Linked DNA regions of Homo sapiens: region 2 is linked to region 1. Evidence: promoter capture Hi-C in 16 types of primary human blood cells and fetal thymus (Javierre and others, 2016). All regions are on one chromosome and are shown on one strand. Each heading gives the region's core, a stretch centred on a gene start or on the middle of the fragment in contact. The rest is flanking DNA. Distances are from core to core; before and after follow the strand shown. Region 1 holds the start of CCR7 (C-C motif chemokine receptor 7). Region 2 holds the start of WIPF2 (WAS/WASL interacting protein family member 2).

Region 1 (3,342 bases), core at 280-2,779:
TAGGTTAGGAGTTTGAGACCAGCTTGGCCAACATGGTGAAACCCCGTTTCTACTAAAAATACAAAAATTAGCCAGGCATGGTGGCACGTGCCTGTAGTCCCAGCTACTTGGGAGGCTGAGGCAGGAGAATCACTTGAACCCAGGAGGTGGAGACTGCAGTAAGCCAAGATCGTGCCACTGCACTCCAGCCTGTGCAACAGAGTAAGACTCCATCTCCAAAAAAAAAAAAGAAAAAAGAAAAAAAACACAATGAGATACCACTTTACAGCCACTAGGATGGCTAGAATCAAAAGAATGGACAATAGTAAGTTTTGTTGACAATGTGGAACCCTCACGCATTGTTGATGGGAACAAAATGGTGTAGTCACTTTGGAAAACAGTTTGATAGTTCGTCAAAATGTTAAATATATAATTACCATATGACTCAACAATTTCACTTCTAGGTATATACCCAAGAGAAATAAAGCATATGTCCACACAAACACTTGCACATAAATATTTATAGCAGCATCATTCATAATAGCTAAAAGGGAAAACAGCCCAAACATCCAACTGATGACAGACAAACAAAATGTGGCATATCCATACAATGGAATGTTATTCAGCCATAAAAAGGAATGGGGAATGGATCCATACCACCACATAGGTAACCTTGAAAACACTAACTGAAAGAAGCCAGATGTGAAGGTCACATATTGATACTTCTATTTATGTGAAATGTTCAGAATAGGAAAATCTATAGAGCCAGAAAGTAGATTTGTGGTTGCCAGGGGCTTTCGATGACAGGAGGGGAGGGGAGCAGTCATTGCTAGTGATTACAGGGTTCTTGAGAGGGAGTGAGAAAAAATGTTCTAAAATGTATTGTGGTGATGGTTGCATAACTCTGTGAACATACAAAAACCATTGAATTCTATACTTTAAAAAGGTAAATTTTATGGGATGTGGATTATAGCTCAATAAAGCTGTCATTAAGAAAGGAAAAGGAAGGGAGGGGAGAAGAGGGAAAGGGGAGGGAGGGGAGGGGAGGGGAAGGGGGGAGAAAAAAGATACATCGTGGCATATCTCTTCCCTTTTACCTGTCATTATGTGTCAGTGCCTCCCATTGGCCTAAACTACCCAGAAGCCAGAGGGAAAGCCATTTGGGACTATATTCCACTGTGACACTGAGCAGAGCAAGGGAAGGATGGGGACACTTCTCTCACACATCTCTGACTCCCCAACATCTAACCCATGGCCTGGCATGTGATATTCATGCTATAAATATTTGTTGAATCAGTAAATGGCCCCTCATCTAGATTCTGCCAGGCAGCGCAGGGGGCTTTTTGAATGTAAATGACCTAATGATTCAGGATCCTATGACCAGCGACTGTCACCCTCTGTCACCTTTCTTCTGCCCCTTTATCTCTGAAGGCATTGAAGGGGCCCTGCATGAGTCAGGGAGGGCTGGGGGGAGGAGCAAGGGTGGGAGGGGCAGGGAAGAGGGTGGCTTCTCCGACAACTTAAAAGGGGCTTGAACCACTTCCTCCCCAGACAGGGGTAGTGCGAGGCCGGGCACAGCCTTCCTGTGTGGTTTTACCGCCCAGAGAGCGTCATGGACCTGGGTGAGTGAGCCTCTTCATGTGAGAAGGAACAGTACCAGGGTCTTGGACACCCAGACTGACCCTGTGGAATGGGGGTGGAGGATGCGGGTGGAGCGCATAGGGGTGCTTCCTGGAGAAATCAGTTCTGATTTGGTGGGCATTGGAAGCTACTTCCAGAGAATGCCCCCTGCTGTCCCAGGAGGGGTGCACCTGCCCTTTCAGACCTGGAGAAGGGGTCAGCCTTTGGTGCCAGTGGGGACAAGGGAGGGGCCGAGATCATGTCTTTCTAAAACAGCAGGGACATAAGAGAGTGGCGGGGCTGGGCTTGGTGGTCTGGCAGAACCTGTTCTCATCATGAGGGTGATAGGTTAGGCCCTCTGGGACCTCTGGGGACAGGTTTCAACAGAGAAATTCTCCCTAGAGAGCTTAGGACCTTTTACCCACTCTCTGATTCCCACCTTTCTCCCCTGCCAAATATTCATATACCTGTCCACTTGGGGTCATGAGGAGATGCAAATGAAACGTGACTGGGTTGTGAGAATGGTGCGGTGCATTGCAAATGCAAGCTCTGGTTGCTTTCTCTCTGCTGCACATCCCACCTGCTTTGATCTGGCTTTGCTGTTGCCTCTTGCAAGTTAAGGAACGGGCAGGCAACATGGAATGGGATGGCAAGGGGCACTCAGCTTGGAGAAATCATAGCCAGGCCTTCAGCACAGCCCCTGCCCCTGAGCAAACCTCACGCACTCTGCCCCGGCAGATAACTCTACTCTTTAGAAAGCCCTTTCTCAGGTCTAACCTAGAAGGGGTCAAGGGGAAGCACTGAGGGTGTTCTGAGTGGTTCATCCAGCTCCAGACGCCCCCTTTATAAATCTCAGCTGTGGAGTCAGACCAGGCTGAGGCTAAGAAGACCAGGTTCCTAGATGGCTTGTCTCACCAGCAAACAATGCACCACGGCGGCCTCAAAGCCGCAAAGGGTTGGCTTTAAAAAGTGAAGGTTCCCTGGTGCTGTCCTCACACCCCTCCTCGCCACACCACAGCCTCCTTGATTTCATCTCTTACTTTCCCGCCTGCCCTGAACGCTGGATCTGGACCCAGCAAACAGCTGTGAAAGGGTTAAAGTGGTCACCCCACCCACTGACTGTGAACTCCTGAAAGGCAGGTTCAGGTGCTTTGAGGATGTGAGGAGAAAATGTCTGCGGAATGAATGAATACACCGTATCAAGAACTCCGTAGAGTTTAGTTTTTGAAAATCTCTTCCAAATGCCTCATTTCCCAGCCAATCTACCCTTAAATCCCACTCCCCTGCACCCCCTCCACCACCCCCCATCACAATCCCACAGTACAGACGTCACCCACAGAAGACCCTGCTCCAGCCTTTCATACTGGCCTCCAGGAAGGAAACCAAGCAGTGCCCAGTGGTGTGCTACTGGGCATTTGAAAAGCAGCTCCCCGGGGTGGAGCACTGGTAGCTGACTCCAGGGTGGAGGGAAAGTCCTGAATTTGTAGTGCTTGCCAATTTCCATGGTGTAAATTCTCCCACCCTGGCTGATTGATTTCAAGCCATCTACATGACTGAACAGGGGGTTGGGAAGATGTGCAGAGTGTCTTACCCCAGACTAGGTTTAGGGGTGCTAGACTCCTAGGCTTTGATGCAGGGAGAGAGGGTAATCTCTGGTCCAGGAAGAAGGGATATTCTTGCCACTTCACTCAACTTGAGAGAGCCCCAACGGTCAAACCCGAAATACTGGTAGGAGGGGAAGCC
Region 2 (3,498 bases), core at 141-2,640, 350 kb after region 1:
GAATTCCAGACTAGCCTGGACAACAGGGCAAGACTCTGTCTCCAACAACAACAACAAAAAAATATATATATATACATATATATATATATATATATATATATATATATATATATATATATACACACACACACGTTAGGCGGGAGTAGTGGTCACACCTGTGGTCCCAGCTATTGGCGGGGCTTAGGTGGAAGGACCACTTCAGCCCGGGAGGTCGAGGCTTTAAGGAGCCATGATCATGCCACTGCACTCCAGCCCGGGCGACAGAGTGAGACCACGTCTCTTAAAAGAAAAAAAAAGAAAAAAGAATTCCATCACATATCAGTTCCTTGCCTCAATGCTATTTTTAAGAACTTTCCTTCCTGATAAAAAACTCGACCATACACACTGCCATGCTGAACACTTTAACATTTCCATCTTGGCCGGGTGCAGTGGCTCACACCTGTAATCCCAGCACTCTGGGAGTCCAAGGTGGGAAGATCGCTTGAGCCCAGGAGTTCAAGACTAGTCTGAGCAACATAGCCAGACCCCACCTTTAAAACAAAAAAAAAAAAATTCCATCTTCCCTCACTTCACACCACTTCAACATGAACCCTCAACTCCAGACGTTCCAATGCGCATCTTAACATTCTCAATCCAACCTTTAACTAAATTCTGATTCCTTTTCAAAGAACGCTCTCAAGATTCCCTCTAGTGTAAGCAGTTTCCCGAGCCATCTTCCCAAACACTAGCTTTCACCTAACTCAATCCCCAAAATGTCACACTGGACTCCTCACCCACAGCATCCTGCTAATTAGCCGTTCCCAACAGGTCCTCCGTTCCCGTCTCCCTTTTTGCGCACGATTACCTCGTTCCTCACAGAGTTGCCGCCTTAACTCACCCAACCCTTCAGGAGCCCTTATTGCCTGTCTCTCAAAAACGTTCCTCCCCATTTTTCCAGTCCCCGCTCGCCCCATACCAATATTCGACCACTCCTCCCCAGATTCCCCACGCCCTCTCTCCTCCAGGTTCTTCCGATACAGTCCCCCGGCCCCCCGCCCCTCAGGCCCCACCCGCAAGACCCCTCTCCCCCTCCGGCCCCTCCTCTAATGCCCCCCTCTCTTCTCAAGCCCCGCCCCGAGCCCCCCTCCCCGCGACTTTCCCTCCCACTCAGGTCCGCAGGTCATTTCAGCGACTGACCCAGCCGCCCCGGCCTCTTTCCGACCTGGCCGCAGCTGCTCTGGGAGCGAATCCTCTGCCGCCTACACTCCGGCTTCGTCCTGTCCTGCTCGCCCCCCGGCAAGCTCTTTCTCGCCGTCGCCGCCGCCGCCGCCGCCGCCGCCGCCGCCACCGCCCCTTTTGCCAACCCGGAAATGGATCTGCTCCCACCGTCCCCAGCGTCCGCGAACAAAATGGAGGCGGGGGAAAAAGGAGGAGAGAGCAGGGAGCGGAGAGATGCGAGACGCATGCGCCCCTGGGAAGCCCGCCCCCTGCCGGCCCACGTAAAGGCGGAAGCGGTTGAGTGGACGCCATCTTAGGAAGGTCACAGGAATTCCGCTTACCAGCTAAAAGCTGGGTTTGCAACTTTAGCTGCAATTGGAATCACCTGGCAAGATTTAAATACTATGATGCCTGGTTCCCACCCCTGGAAATTATAATTTAATTCTGGGGTGCAGCCTAGGCATCAGGAAATTGTTGCAGGTGATTCTAACGTGTTGCCAAGGTGGAGAACCACTGAGCTAAACAGTCATTGTTGAATATACTCCTTTCGTCTTTAATCCGCCGCACACACACACACCCTCCCCCCTAAATATCCTTCCTTAATCTCGAGTTAACGAAGAACCCGCCTCGGCCAACCTTGCAAAGGCCAAGTAGTCAAGCTCCGGTTGTCATGGCAACAGAGGCAGGCCACTGCTCACAAGTCATCATTTACGTCATCTTACCCACCTGACTCGAACACCGTCTCTTCTTTCTCGGGCTGGGGTTTCCTCCAGCTTCCAGGGCTATAGGATGGTGCTGTGGACCCCTCCAGCTGCTTGGGCCAGAGAGAGAAATCCTGTGCCCTCTTTGATGGAGCTGCTGTTAAACCCTGACAGCTGACTAAGTATCTCTCCCTAGTCCACCCAGAAAAGCGCTTTCCATTATAGCTTCAAAATACTCTTGGTTTAATTCCATTCCCAGCACAGAATCCGAAGTAAGGGGGCAAGATTGGGACTTAGTCCCCATTACTTACAAGCTGTGTGCCATTGGGCCTTAGCTACCCTATCTGTAAAATGGGTCTAATAGTGCCTGTCCCGTCTGTCTCATAGAGTTGTTGCAAAGCTGAAATCAGTTAATGAATGGGAAAACGTGATAGAGCATAAGTTGTTATTATTTTTGTTTTCCTTCTATTCTGCCATGAGTAGTACTAGGCACCACCCACTAGTCAAGTAAATGTCACATTGAGTACCTGCTAAACACCAGGAGATGGCTACAGAGGTGACTAAGACAGAGCCTCTGCCCTCAGGGAACTCACTACGTTGGTGGGCAGACTGGCATAAACAGCTAGCTGAGATACAAGTCAGCGTGTGATTAGTGCTGTGGGACGTCAGACAAGGGAGCAATTAATTCCTGCTAAAGAATGGAAGGAGGTTTCCTAAATGGTTTGGAGCTGGGCCTTGAAGGATGAATGGAATTTTATTATTAATCAGAGAAGGCAGGGAACACAGCAGGCATAGGGATCAAGGACACGAGGTAAAGATTTTCAGCTGTCTACATCCTGCATGGCCATACGTGGGGCGATGGAGCCAGGGAGATGGTGGGTCCAAACACCTTACCAGAGCCTCCCAACTCTTCAACCTCATCCCCTGCCTGTCCCCTCCTCACTCACTCTACATTATGAGGACCTGATTTCTATCACTGCAATGTACCCCATTCAGCAGTTCCCACCTCAGGGACTGTGTACTGGCTATCCTCCGCCTCTTCCTCATTTTTCAAGCCTTACTGCAAATGCTTCGTCCTCAGAGGGCATTCACTGCCCACTGTAGCTAATGTAAAGCCCCATGCTCTATCACACACTCTGTGATAAGGGCAGCCGCTGGGATGAATATAGGGACATCTCACCCAGACTTGGGGAAATAGTGATATAGGCTTCATGAAAAAGGTAAATGGCCCAAGTGCAGTGGCTCATGCCTGTAATCCCAGCACTTTGGGAGGCTGACAGGGGGGATCGCTTGAGCCCAGAAGTTCAAGACCAGCCTGGGAAACATGGTGAAATCTTGTTACTACAAAAATTACCCGGATATAACCGGGCACGGTGGCTCACGCCCGTAATCCCAGCACTTTGGGAGGCCAAGGCGGGCAGATCACCTGAGGTGGGGAGTTCGAGACCAACCTGACCAACATGGTGAAACCCCGTCTCTACTACAAATACAAAATTAGCCAGGTGTGTTGGCACATGCCTGTAATCCCAGCTACTTGGGATGCTGAGGCAGGAGAATCGCTTGAACCCAGGAGGCGGAGGTAGCGGTGAGCTGAGATCAC

The links. Contacts are between HindIII fragments. The CHiCAGO score rates a contact against its expected background, and 5 or more counts as called.
Region 2: a contact is called between the fragment with the promoter of WIPF2 here and the fragment with the promoter of CCR7 in region 1, in 1 of 17 cell types (neutrophils). The highest score is 5.4, in neutrophils.

The regions. Positions count from the first base shown.
Region 1 is chr17:40,563,659-40,567,000 of GRCh38, reverse strand. CCR7 (C-C motif chemokine receptor 7) reads left to right here and starts at 1,529. Exons shown (of 3, transcript NM_001838.4): 1 at 1,529-1,601. The coding sequence starts at 1,592. RefSeq lists an enhancer at 1,974-2,890. The HindIII fragment of the contact is 7,070 bases long and covers 1-3,342 here.
Region 2 is chr17:40,217,196-40,220,693 of GRCh38, reverse strand. It overlaps WIPF2 (WAS/WASL interacting protein family member 2), which reads right to left and starts at 1,390. Exons shown (of 8, transcript NM_133264.5): 1 at 1,202-1,390. RefSeq lists enhancers at 771-1,549, 1,450-1,559, 2,000-2,049. The HindIII fragment of the contact is 14,072 bases long and covers 1-3,498 here.